Regions from separate parts of the Homo sapiens genome. Here region 1 is linked to region 2. The links are contacts of gene promoters, found by promoter capture Hi-C in blood cells and fetal thymus (Javierre and others, 2016). All regions are on one chromosome and are shown on one strand. The core of a region is centred on a gene start or on the middle of the fragment in contact, and the rest is flanking DNA. Distances in the headings are between cores, read along the strand shown. Region 1 holds the start of ITGA6 (integrin subunit alpha 6). Region 2 overlaps LOC105373741 (a long non-coding RNA gene).

The links. Contacts are between HindIII fragments. The CHiCAGO score rates a contact against its expected background, and 5 or more counts as called.
Region 1: a contact is called between the fragment with the promoter of ITGA6 here and a fragment that was not itself captured in region 2, in 14 of 17 cell types (megakaryocytes, naive CD4 T cells, non-activated CD4 T cells and 11 more). The highest score is 13.5, in megakaryocytes.

Annotation. Positions count from the first base shown.
Region 1 is chr2:172,425,060-172,431,969 of GRCh38, reverse strand. It overlaps ITGA6 (integrin subunit alpha 6), which reads right to left and starts at 4,384. Exons shown (of 26, transcript NM_000210.4): 1 at 4,000-4,384. The coding sequence starts at 4,181. RefSeq lists enhancers at 448-1,647, 3,072-3,572 and a silencer at 4,357-4,436. The HindIII fragment of the contact is 11,901 bases long and covers 2,105-6,910 here.
Region 2 is chr2:172,152,260-172,159,076 of GRCh38, reverse strand. It overlaps LOC105373741 (a long non-coding RNA gene), which reads right to left. Exons shown (of 3, transcript XR_923580.2): 3 at 5,586-5,777. It also overlaps the pseudogene LOC124906157. Among named protein-coding and RNA genes, the nearest start is that of DLX2-DT, 53 kb to the right of the region's middle. The HindIII fragment of the contact is 1,479 bases long and covers 3,609-5,087 here.

The DNA of each region.
Region 1 (6,910 bases), core at 3,135-5,634, 270 kb before region 2:
GAGAGTCTATATAACTGAGAACACAGAATAACCACTTCTTTATAATAAAGGAATCCTTTTATATAAGCATTTATCCTGACTTCCCCAACAAATTATTTATACCATATAAATACTTTGACCCTTTTTTTCCCCAACCCTGTCATTACTTGGTCTCACACCAGCCTGTGTTAAAATTAAACTTGCCTATTTCTGCTTTCTTGCAGAGTCCTAAGACTTCCTGTAAGTCTCGCTGCCCGTTTTGGCTTTTTCTCTACTCTTAGCATTCAAGGTGACCCAGCAATCCCTGGAAGATGGCCCTGGGCCACATGGCACTCCGAGTGAATAAATGCAAGGAAGCAAGTGCTTAGGTACACATCCTGAATACAGCTCTGATTCTTGGCTAGCTACAGCCACACTTCACTGGGCTTTTTCAGAAGGGAATGGGGTGGAGGCAGGCAAAGAAGGACGGACCCAGAACTTGTTCCAAGGCCAGCTGGAATAGAGTCAATAGTAAGAGTCCAGGCACCAATATTTAAATAGATAGCCCTGACCTATGCATATGGGAAGCAGTTTGATAAATCAACACAATATAGTACACTTCCAAAATTCAGATGCTTGCCGATTTCTCTAGGTCTGAAGAACATTTCTGGCTTTTCCATTTAAAAATGGCATGAGCATGGGTCAGAGATTCAAATCCACATTCTGTTAAGATTCTGCTCAAGCTGAACTTTCAGCTTCAGTTTCTTCATCTGTAAAAAGAGGCAGTTGGACTAGATGATCTCTAGTTCAGAAAATATGATTTTAAGAGATGGAACATGACAAGTCTGAGAAAAGTCAAGAACAAACCTAGTAAGGGTCAGAACAGAACAGACCGCGGGCCTGGAGCATTTCTGGAAGACAGTGGTGGTCAGAGAGAGAGACCCCATAAAGAAGAAAATGAGGGTTGGCAGAAATCCAAAATGACTTCATGAGACTATCTCTTATAGATCTCCTTCTTCTAGGTTCTTCCCTGTGATCATATATAGATCCATCTCTTCCCAGAAGAGCTAAGAGTGATGATTCATAGGCTGGATATACCCACAGTCATCATCACATACCTTCCACCTCTGGGAATGACTCAATCTTAACTACCTAAGAGAAATTAAAGAGTCCAAGGTGCTCAGACCCTGACCTCAGTCACTCGGCGGACCAACTTGGCTGACCATTGAGTAATCTTTTGGAGTCCGAAACTTCTTTAATATACAGCCTGAAAACCTGGATGAAGTTTATGGTATCTACTTCAATTTTATAGTCTCCAAAGCTTTAGGAACACCCGACATGTTTTGGGGCTCTCTGACACAATATTATTCTGCAAAAGTCATAACTGGAGTTTAAAATGTGACTGAATAGTTAAAGGCACTATAGAAAATTTGAACTACAAACATTTATGATAGGTCTTCTATGATCGTGCTTTTATCTGACCGTCCCATGCATCTGATATTTTACTTCTCCTTCCTCAAAGTCCTCTGTTCATTAAACTCACTTTTGTTATAAGTCTAATTAAGACCTATTAAAGTTAAGTTGCTTTGAACATGGGTTTCATAAATATGACTGAGTTTAAAATATCATTACCCAAAAACAACCACCTTTGGCTTTACTCTCAGGCAATCTTAGAATCACAGAATGTTTAAGACACCTTGTAAGGTACCTGACACACAGTAGGTACACAATTACTGCTTTTTAAATGATCATTAACAGCTACCATTTAGTCAGCAAGTACCCATGCCAGACAGGCATTAAGCACTTTGCATATTATCTCTTAATCCTCATAATAACCCCAGTAAGCAGTAATATCTCCATTTTACAGATAAAGAAATTAAAGCTCAAAGTAAATTAACAGCTGCTAATAAAAGGCCGAGAAGGAATCTCAGCTTAGGTCTCTCTCCCACCAGGTCCCTGAAAGACCCCCACTGAGTTTTTCCATAGAGTTTAGGAAGCTGGTCCAGAAGTTTTCTCAGTCTTACTGGCTCTGCCATTTACACCCACATTCTTTACTGTCAAAGGTTGACAACTGACCTGTGCTATGGCCTGTGTGTGCTGGTTCTCCTGGGAAGACCAATGCTATTCCTGAAGCTGGAATAAAGCTTTACAAAAGCATGGAGGTGGGCAGCACGTGACATAAACCACAGCCTCTTTAAAGTGTGGTCACTGCCTTTGGACTCTAGGAAACATACAGTCTCCTTATACGGGGCCTCTCCCCTCTGTCAGCTGCTAAGAAGAGCTTTCCTAGAAGGCATCAGACCCCATTGCAGGCTTATCCTTACCTCGGGAGGAGTTGCCTCAGCTCTAATACCAGAGAAGCCCAGCAGCAGTAACAAGTTTTAGCAAGCATGCTGCTAACCTTCACGACACAGATTCCTGGCAAAGTCACGTTTCGCAAATCTCCACTGCCAGGATATTTCTTGTCCCAGTACTTTCCCTTCACACTTTTTGCTTGAACAAGTATTTCAAGGAAGCCACCGGTTTCAGTGGGGCTCTGGTGCAGAGAGAGAATGCCCAGGAGAATGAATTCCCTCTGCTGGCCCACAATCATTTCTGCACTAACAAGCTCAAATTCTACACACCAAGTATTCCGAGACAATAAACGTCATCTATTAACTGAGTTAACAGGAACCTTTCATTTCAGATTTACAGCTTAACAACAATTATTTCTGAGAGAAAGCAGAGTATAAGCAGCTGGCCAGGCATATAGCCTCAGACCACCCTCCTAGAGCCTCCCCACCCCCAGCTAATTTCTGTGCTTCACCTAGCAGGTGTTATCAGAAAAAAAAAAAAACTGACTAAAATTCAGGGGCTGCAACATTCACGAATTCCAAAGTTGTTAACCGCTGAAATCAAGAGGTTTCCTCCAGTTCTAAAATCCCATTCGCCTCTCCTAAACACAAAATCTCTTCACTGTGGCTGCACTTTGCTTTCTCCGGTCTGTTGGTCCTGGAAGGTCCTTAGTTCAACTCAAGGCCTGGGTGGGGAGGGGAGACCTTTTGTTGCTACAGCCTATTTTTCAGTAGCACAGATGAAGAATGCAACCCCATAGCGATTAAGGCGACTAAGCGCCAAAATACCCTCTCCGGCTTAAATAGCCGATCATGTGGGAACCAAACACTGTTTAAGAAATAAAAGGAGAGGCCAGTAGTGCCGGTCTCCTCTTTCTCCTGGGAGGTTTACCGCTACGGTGGGGGGTTGTCCCTTACAAACCTTGTTTGCAAAGTCCAGGCTCAGATCGGACATTTTGCTTTAACCCCTTGGCTGTGCCCGCCCAACGCAGGAGCCGAGCGGGTCTCGGGTGCGGCCGAGTACTTTGGGGGCTGGGCACATCACTCAGACTTGTTTTCTCAGCTGATCTAGTCCAGCGAACAGGTGTTTGGTTAATTCCCGCCCCCACCCCCATCTTTTTTTTTTTTTTTTTCAAAGGCATGTAAAAGTATCTCCTAAGGAGCGCCCCCGCCTTGCTGAGAAAGTCATGCAGGACACATGGAAAGTGGCTTTCCAACTTGTGCGGGGCGCGCCAGTCTGCGGGGGAGACGGGGTGCACCGTGAGTTTGGGAAAGGCCTAGACCATCCTGGAACTACGCTCCCTGCAAACCCACAGCAGCGCTGCGGTGACCCTGAACGCCACCCCAGCCCCAAACACACACGTGAAGCTCAGCAAAGCGTGCCACCTGCCGGGGTCCCAGCAAACACGCCCGGAGGGAAGAACCGGCGGAAAGCACTTTGTTTAAAACAGAAAAAAAAGTAAACTCTCCCGGGGCCCAGCCTAGCCCTCGGGTTCTCCTCCTTCCCGAGCTGAATGGAGGGAGGCGCCGCGCGGGGCGGGTCAGGGCGGGGAGCCGAGCGCGCTGGGCGCTGGGTGCGCCTCGGCCGGCCCGGGCGCGACCCACGGGCCAACTACTCCCCGGGGCCGGCGGGAACAGGGCGCGCCCTCGCCTCAACTCGCGCGCAGGCCGGCGCCCCAGTGGGGGTGGGAAGGGTCTGGGAACTCACAGCCGCTTGTCCTCGGGCTGCAGTTGCCAGTGCATGGCCAGCGAGAAGCCGAAGAGGCTCCCGGGGTCTCCATATTTCCGGATCACGTTGTCCTCCCGAGTGTCCAAGTTGAAGGCTGCGCCGAGCCGGGACAGGAGCCCCGCCGACAGGTAGAGCAAGCACAGCTGCCCGGCGGCGGCCATGGGCGGACGCACGGGGAGGGGAGCGGGGACCTGCAGCGGCCGCCCTGCGCTCCGGGCTGGGTCCGAGGCTGCCGCGCTGCTGCTACCGCAGCCACCTTCGCCTCCTCTCGCCGCTGCGCCCGGCCCCACCCCCGGGACGGGTCGCGCTCTCCGTCCGGCCGCTCCCCCTCGCGGGCAGCTCGCGACCGCTGAATGAGCCCGTTGTTCTCTGGAGACTCGCAGGCGTTTTATCAAGTGACGAGGACGCCGGCCCCGCCCCTCCCCACCCTCTCGCCCCTCCTTGCGCGCCCGCGGCCCGGCGCACCGCCCGCACCTTACCCGCCGGCTCTGGCGTCTCCAGCTGCCCGGTACCTGCCCGGAAGCCACGACGTGGGAGCCCCGGAGGCGAGCTCGCGGCGAAGCAGCCCCACTGCGCCGCCCTCTGTGGACAGAATTGTGGTTGCCGAGTAGCACAGAGCGAGGGAGACTTTACTACCCGTTATAAAGAGAAGTGCAGGTGATGCACCGGGCCTCATGGCCTGAGCAGCCTGTTCTTGCAGATGTGGGCCCACGTGCAGATGCATACGTCATTCATTCATTTCTACAGGTGTTTATGGAGCGCTTAAGGCGTGCCCAACACTTGGGGACTACAGCTGTGTAGACTGTTCTGGGTCCTCAAACACCTAACAACCCTCAAAAATGATCACAGCGCACACCTTGATAGTGCTGTATAATGTACACAACCCAGCCATTACCTCAATTCATCCTAACAGTCCTATGAGGTAGGTGTTTCTTTTTGCAGATCAGAAAACCGAAGTTCCGCCTTGTCCCCAGATCACCTAGGATTTTGCCCAGGTGACCAGGAGAGCTTGTGGAAGAAGTCACGCAAGTCAAGGATGGGTTGTTTAAAGTGGCGCCAGGAGCTCAGGCGACGATGCCGTTCTTTCCTAGCCCCGGACTTTCAGAACTAGTTGTGGGGAGAACTGCTGGGCCAAGAGACAGCTCCGAGTTCTGTGTAGGTGGCATGAAGGCTCCTGCCTCCAGGACATGAGGCGGGGCTCCAGTGAGGTGTTGGCCCTAGGGGCAACCTTATCCTGCAGGGGTTCTTAACCCGAGGAGAGGTAATTAATTCAAGAGTACTGTGAACTTGGATGAGAAAAAATTTACGTCTTAATTTTCACCAACCTCTGACATTTAGCACGTTTTGCCATTATGAACGTAGACAACAAACTACAGTAGCAGTAGGATAAGTATTTATGACTTAGTAATCACTAGAAACCATAGGTTTTTACATCACATCACAGTTGTTGCAAGTATCTCAAATAACAGTAGTTATTAGACAATCAGCCAGATATTATATGTCAATAATGAAGCATATATATTGCTCTAGCACAAATTTTTAAAAACATTTTGTTAGCTACATTTCAATATTATTGGCTTTTTTTGTAACCTCTTGTGGTTTCTTTTATGTATTTAAAACCCTTATTCTGAGAAGAACCCCATGGTTTTCAGCAGCCTGCCAAAGGGGTCCCATGGCATGAAAAGGTTGGGACGTGCTGGCCTGAAGCCTTCTGGAATGCCTTGGGGAGCCCTCTTTGGAATCTGACATCCCTGCATTGGAAATACAAGCAGGGTGCAGCCCCAGGAAAGAGCAGGAGCTGTGTGTGCATAGGGGTAGGGGTGGCCTCTTCTTCACCTCAAGGAGTATTCAAGAGAACAGCATGTGCCACTCAGAAAAGCTGCGTGAACATCATCAAGGGTCCCCACAGGTGGTAGCAGCTGTCAGAGTAAGTCCGTCAGTATATTAGGGGTGTGTACCACTTCCTTTCCAATCAGTAACTCCAGTCAATTATAGTCCAAAGTGGGGTGCAGTGGTTTAAATTCAGTAGATGATTTTGGAGAGCACACAGTTTTAACAAATATATCTTGATAAGGTTGAGAAACTATTGGAGACAATCTAGTAAACTAAGAAGTACTTGCAACGTGATTTTTCATGCAAATAAGTTGCAAGTTAGCCTTTTCCCTTCGTGTAAAATATGTACTATTCCAGAGAGATGGGGTCCAGACTATTATAGGCATAGTATAATGAACCTCACTGCAGAGTGTACTCAGCCAGGAGCTGGTGATTTGGCTGTAATGGTTACTGAAATATTCTGAATTGGTTGATAAAAGCTGCTGCCCTTAGTTCCTCACAGGCAACCATCCCTGCCCTGCCCATTTTCCTAGGACTAAGCAACTTCCTCACAACCTGGCAAATGAAAGTTTAAGCCCTTAAGCCCTGATGCAGCAAGGGCTCCCTCTGCTTGGATATCCCCATGTCACACCAGCTGTTAACTATTCTGAATATCACCCCTTGCTTCTAAGAGTAATTCTGTGGACCATTGATTCCTGTCTTCCCAAGATGTGTTTAGTGGATGATGTATGAATGGCCAGAGTTATTTACTTTATCCCAAACACAGATTGTGCTCAAATTGAAATTCTAAATAATATTAAATTTAAATATCACAACTACATGTATAGCACTACTGAAGCAAATTATGCTTGTGTGGGAAGAGGTTCAGATAAAGAAAAACAAGGCTGGGAGTCTTGTTCTGGAATATGTCAAGTGCCCATCGCAAATGGAAAACTTATTAGCTCAGTGCTCCTACCTGCCACCTGTCTCCTACCTACTTGAAGTTGAGTCAAACTCTCACTCTCAACATAGATGCCGAAGATACTTGAAGTTGAGTCAAACCCTCACTCTTGACATA
Region 2 (6,817 bases), core at 3,099-5,598:
ACAGTAATAATTGTTTATTGAGTTTCCCTGAGAGATCTGGATGCTGTAACCCAGGAAACAAGCAGTTACCCCAGTCAGAGTGAGGCTCTTGGGTTCAGGCACATGGGCTGGGATGAAAGAGACAGGGGAGGCAGTGGCCTACACTAGCTAAGACTTTCACACTAGCACATCCAAGAGGCACCACTCCATCAGCTTCAGGGCTTGGCAGATGAGAGGTCCCAAAGGAAGACACACAGTTGAGCCTTCCCCATGTCTGTCTGTCCTGGGCATACCCCTTTCCTGACCACAGGGAGCTACACACCTGCCCATCCTCTTGCCATACTGTTATTTATGGGCTATTTATCCATCTCTGGCTACAAGCTCTGCTTCCCCCATAATCACCAAATTTGGCAACTGGCCTTTGGACTGGTGCCTCAAGCCACTCCCACCTCCGGTTTCAGGAGAACCCCTTTGACTTAATGACCTAGACAGTGGCCTCACCCAGCTCAAATCTGTCCCCATTACTCCATTCCTGTCTTACTCACAGACCCTCAGCCCTCAGATACCCCTCGCCTGGAGTAATCACACCAAAAGGTATGCACATCACTCAGTCCCCATCCATTTGTGCCACAGAGCAAAACAAAATAATATTCAGCCTTATTATCAAAGAGGTACAAGTCAAAAATGTAGTATTAGGTAAAGAGCCAGAATGGAGCGTGAGGTCATACAGTTTGAATCTAGCTGAATGGGTGACAGATAATGATCTTTCTGTTCTTCAGACAGGCATCCTGCTCCCCGTTTTCTTCTTCTAAATTCCCCTCTATTCCCTCTCTCAGTCATCCCTAAATCTCTTATCTCCTGCTGTCCTTTCAATATGTCTCCCAGTGTCTTCCATACCTCTTCTATTTCTCTTTTATCCTTATCTAACCAGTATAGAAAACTGATTACAATAAGTAGTGTAAATATTTCTTATGTATGACACTTTTTTTCATCCAATTTGGAATTATAAGGAGAGCATTTGTCAGGATTTAAAGGACAGACTTTCTACAAAATTCATGTTTCCATACTCCAGTTAAACTCTTCTCGAATGTCTAACTCCTGAATTATGGTGTCTATTATGGGTTGGATTTTATCCCCTAAAGAAATATGTTGAAATCCTGACCCCAGTACCTGTGAAAGTGACATTATTGGAAATACGGTCTGTGCAGGTGTAATCATGCTTTACAATGAGTTCATAATGGAATAGGCTGAGTCCTTAATATAATATGACTGGTATCCTCATAAGAGAGGAGAAGCACAGGGACACAGACACACAGGAAGAAGACAGCCATGTGACAATGGCAGCAGAGATTAGAGTGATGCATTTCCAAGTCAGAGAATGCCAAGCATTGCCAGCAAACACCAGAAACTAGAAGGGGCTAGGAAGGATTCTCCACTGCAGGTTTTAGAGGGTGCTAACACCTTGATTTTGGACTCTAGCCTCCAGAACTGTGAGATAATAAAATTCTGTTATTTTAAGCCACCCAATTTGTGGCTTTTTGTTACAGCAGCCCTAAGAAAGTGTCCCTCAGACACTTCTTTTATTTTTTATTTTTTATTTTTTTTGAGATGAAGTCTTGCTCTTGCCACCCAGGCTGGAGGGCAATGGCACAATCTCGGCTCACTGCAACCTCCGCCTCCCAGGTTCAAGCAATTCTCCTGCCTCAGCCTCCTGAGTAGCTGGGATTACAGGCATCTGCCACCATGCCCGGCTAATTTTTGTATTTTTAGTAGAAATGGGGTTTTGTATTTTTAGTAGAAATGGGGTTCCGCCATGTTGGCCGGGCTGGTCTCCAGCTCCTGATTTTGTGATCTGCCCACCTCAGCCCCCCAGAGTGCTAGGATTACAGGTGTAAGCCACCATGCCCGGCCCCTCAGACACTTCTTTAAAAAAAAAATTCTTGGGGCTTCTTTGAGAATTCTTATTATTGACCTTGGTTATTCATTCCTGATTTATCTAATTCTGAGATCAGAGAAGTTGATTATTTATATATCTCAGAAAAAACATGTAACTACAATTTATCGTTAAGTTGATTTTATTTTAACGTGAATGTCCCCCAGTAGCAATGCACTAGCACCTGAGCCATGGTTTATAAATGTCAGTCCCCCTAAGAATCCTTTGATGAAATCCTCATTCCAGGTCTGGAATGGAGAAAAAGTGAGCCTGGGACATTTTGTTGGACCAGAAAGCAATGAAGTGCTCAAAGACCAACCAAGACATGTCAAAAAATTACAGGAACCAGCTTGAAAGAGCTCCTGCTACCCTAACTTGGAAGAACTGGAGCAGCAAATAGAATAAAAGAACAATGATAGTAATGGATGATAACACAATGAATTGCCTAAAAAAATCCACAGTCCATGGTGATACTCAAAAGAAAGAGGGAAAAAGAGAGATCTGATAGAAATGTCAACTAATAAATGTGAAAGGAATGATAATATTAGAAAATGATCATTTTGAGATCACATTTCACATCACATCAAAGCTGTGGAATTTCCTCTCTTCTAGGGGGAGCCTTGTGAAGATAAATTTGGTTTAAGCTGGTGGAAGCCATGGATGTGGAACCCACAGAGATGGAGGGCCGACTGTATAAACAATTATTTTACCGAGTTTCCTATGAAGATGAACAAGGGAACTGACTTGTCAAAGCGCACACCAATGAGTAGAGGCAGAACTGGAATCAGAATCCGAGACCTCTCTTGCACCACCCAGCACATGAGGGCTCTCTCCATGGGCATAATCCTCCCTACCTCCTACTTACCTGCCCTGTGCTGTGGGTAATAGATGAATCGCAGTGGTCCCTAACTTTTTTGGCACCAGGGACCAGTTTCATGGAAGACTATTTTTTCACGGATCAAGGGAGAACAGAGAGGGGCGGGGATGGTTTCAGGATGATTTCAGCACACTACATTTATCATTAGATTCTCCTAAGGACTGTGCAACCTGAGCATGATGATTGGGTATTCACGTGCATGTGTGAGATCTGCCACCCTTGAACCTTGTTATGACGTTAGCACATTACCCATCTGACACGAAAAAAAGAAGAAGAAAGAAAAAAAAAGAGGAGTGCGCAACCTAGATCCCTCGCATGCGCAGTTCACAATAAGGTTTGCGCTGTATGAGAATCTAATGCCACTGCTGATCTAACAGGAGGCGGAGCTCAGGCGGTAATGCTTGCTTGCCCGCCACTCAACTCCTGCTGTGCAGCCCGGTTCCTAACAGGCCACAGACCAGTACCGTGGGGACCCCAGGTCTAGTGGACTCCAAGAAAGACATTGGAAGAAGGAAATGGAGAAATGAGCAGACTTCAGAATAGTATCAACAAGCCATGCAGTTAGATAATGTGAAAGTCTACTGGTGAGTCTAAGGGATCTCCCTAGATGTATTTAAGAGTAACCGAATCATTATAAGGAAAGCTGTAAACTGGCAAATTGGACTGAGAAAAATCTGCCAAAATGCAGAAAGAGGATAGTATAAATCCAAGTGCAAACAGAAGGGCACAGATCATTCTGGAATGTAGGTTCCTGGTTGCAAGTATTCCATCAAGCTTTGTTTCCTGATTTGGAGTTTGGAAACATAGTCCCTCTAAGCTTAGATGGAGTTGAATGCAGCATGAGGACTGGACAGTGAGTTTCCAAAAGGGAGAGAGCACAAAAAAAAGAGGCACAAACAAGTTGATCCCGTGACGGAGCCAAATACCAGATTTTGCCTTGACCTCCAGGAAACTTGTGAAACCACTACCTTCTCTTTCCTCTAATTCCATTCATTTCACAACATCCTCTGGGCTTTTGTGTGAAACACTGTGCTTGGTGTTACAGGGATGGAGGGTAACACGGTGTTGGGGGTGGTAACGAGGTGTTGGGGTGATATACAGAATAAATAAACTGAAGGAGGTTCTGCCCTCAAATTTTAGTCTTATAGTAAGAAGCGATTCACACACTGGGCTGTGATTTCATGCCCACTGCTCAGTCTCCTGATTGCTCATCCTGCTTCTCAGCTTAGTCCTGGACAGATGGAGTGTATAATATGGGGTAGTCTGTGTCCATAGTCACTCAAAGATAACTCCTGACTGTGGATTCAAAAATATGCATTATAAACTTTTTTTAATGACCATTTTGGAACCTATGATATTATCAATTCAGGCAGTGGATGCTAAAACTGTAGAGGACCCATATATTCACATGGACTCAAAGTATCACTGCACAAAGGACTTGATAATTGTAAAGGGAGGAGTGGCGAGATATGGCAAACACCTCAACTGAGTGATCACACTCAGTAACATGCTACGTGCCTTCTGGTGTAACAGAAAAAGAGACACAATTTCATAAGTACTGTTTGCGCCAAAAAAGTTTCCCCAAAGGTAATCATGAGAAACCAATCAGACAAATACAGAATATGGTACATTCCACAAGACAACTAGCTTGATCTCTTCAAACAAGTCAATGTCATAAAAGAAAAAAAAAGGTAGGACAACTATTCTATATTAAATGAGACCAAAGACATAACAACCAAATATAATGCATGAATTTGATCGGATCTCAGATTGAGGGAAAAAAAGTTATAAAAAAGGCATTTGAAAGGAAATTTAATACACATTATACATCAGAATCATTGCTAATTTTCTTAGGTGTGATCATGCTGTCGTGGTTAGGGGAACGACATTACTCTCAAGAGATGCACGCTAAATTGAAACGTCACAATGTTTGCAATTTTCAAATGTCAACAATTGGTAAATCTAGATGAAGGATGTACAGGTGCTAATTGTATTATCCTTTCAATTTCCCTGCAGGTTTGAAATTTTTCAGGTAAAACAGAGAGTGGAGACTTGAATGTGGCCTCAACGTTGCTTTTTTTTTTTCCTTCATGATGCTGGGTGTTAAAGCATTATCCTTGTCTTCTTAGACTCTCTTTTCTTTCAAATAAAAAAAACCCACACACCTGGTCTAAGCCAAAGTATTGTTTCCACTGCCTGCAAGTATGCAGGGTTTTCCTTGTAGCAGCTGTCTCACTGGGAGCATTTTCTGTTTCAGCAACTCACATGTTTGACATTATCTCATGGATATATGAAGCTTTAGGAATATGTCACTGTCTCTTTGAAACTTAAAGATGAATCATTCTCTCAATCTCTAGGGGAAAAGATAATGCCATGGATTCCCTCATTGCTGTATAAGAAGGGGCCATGCCCAGCAGATTCCAGTAATGGCCTCTGAAGTTTACAACAGATGCCAAAGTGTGTTGGGAATACCACTGGGCTAAAAATTGGGAATCTCCTGGGGAAAGTTATTTCACCTTTCAAGGCTTCATTTACTTCATCTGTGAAAGAGAATGATTGCAATGAATGCTTTTAAAGTTCCCTTCAAGCACTAATAGTTTATCACTGGAGTTTCTGCTTTCCCAGACATAGCATCATGGCCCAAAAGAGAAAGCAAAGGGTCAGTTCTTCTCCTTGAGCACAGTCTTCAAATTCCTGGATGCTCCAGCGGGGAAGCAGCACCCTCAGCGCTTCCTCTTGTGGCAAAATAAAAACATTTTTAAGCCTAATCCACCACTGCACCTGGCCTACACTTACCTTTTTTCTAGAAACAAATGTGTCAGTTGGCAATTAGTGAAGCCTCAGAAGCAAAATTAATTCCACATGTCCTTAGCACACTATATAAAGAGAGGATCAAAGGACGACAGTCGGTGCAGAATGTGGTTAGCTGCTTCCTGTATTCTCTCCAGCTGAGCATTGTCTGTTGGCTGCAGGACCCCTTGGAAAACTCTGATAGGGCAAAAGGAAAGGAGTTGATGGAAGATTTGGGCAGACATTGCAGAGGAAATGGGCAAACTTTCATTCAGGGTGTGGCCAGAATGGAAAAAGATGAAAAGTTTAAGATGCTGGTAAAAAATGGAGAAGAAAAAACAGGCTAGAAAATAACATTCTGGAGGTAGATTTGTTTCCACATTAAGTTCAACACCCTTACGCTATAATGGTATTTTTCTATCTCTAGAAAAGTCATTTCTATGACTTTTATAACAAATAATGATGCAAAAATATTTAAACTACATTCTTCCCTGGCTAACCATTCAAGCCAAGCAGAGGTCCACAAATTGTGATAGTCTCCAGCATCAAGAAGAACTAACTGCATTCTTTTTTTATTTATTTTACTTTAAGTTCTGGGATACATGTGCAGAACATACAGATTTGTTACATAGGTATAGATGTGCCATGGTGGTTTGCTGTACCCATCAACCCATCATCTAGGTTTTAAGCCCTACATGCATTAGGTATTTGTCCTAATGCTCTCCCTCCCCTTGCCCCCCACCCCCGTACAGGCCCTAGTGTGTGATGTTCCCCTCCCTGTGCCCATGTGTTCTCATTGAAGAACTAACTGCATTCTTTGTGTATGTGTGTGTGTGTGACGGAGTCTCACTTTGTCACCCAGGCTGGAGTGCAGTGGTGCGATCTCGGCTCACTGCAACCTCCACCTCCCAGGTTCAGGTGATTCTCCTACCTCAGCCTCCTGAGTAGCTCGACTACAGGCGTGCGCCACCACGCCCAGCTAATTTTTTGCATTTTTAGTAGAGACAGGGTTTCACCCTGTTAGTCAGGATGGTCTCAATCTCCTGACCTCATGATCCGCCCGCCTTGGCCTCCCAAAGTGCTGGGATTACAGGCGTGAACCACCGTGCCCGGCCGAACTAACTGCATTCTCATGATTTGCTAGTCAAGTTCAGATTTGGCCAGCATGATGACATCCAGAGGTAGGCCTGGTCTACTTCTGAGGACACAGGCCAAATCAAGCCCTCCTGTCTTTCCCA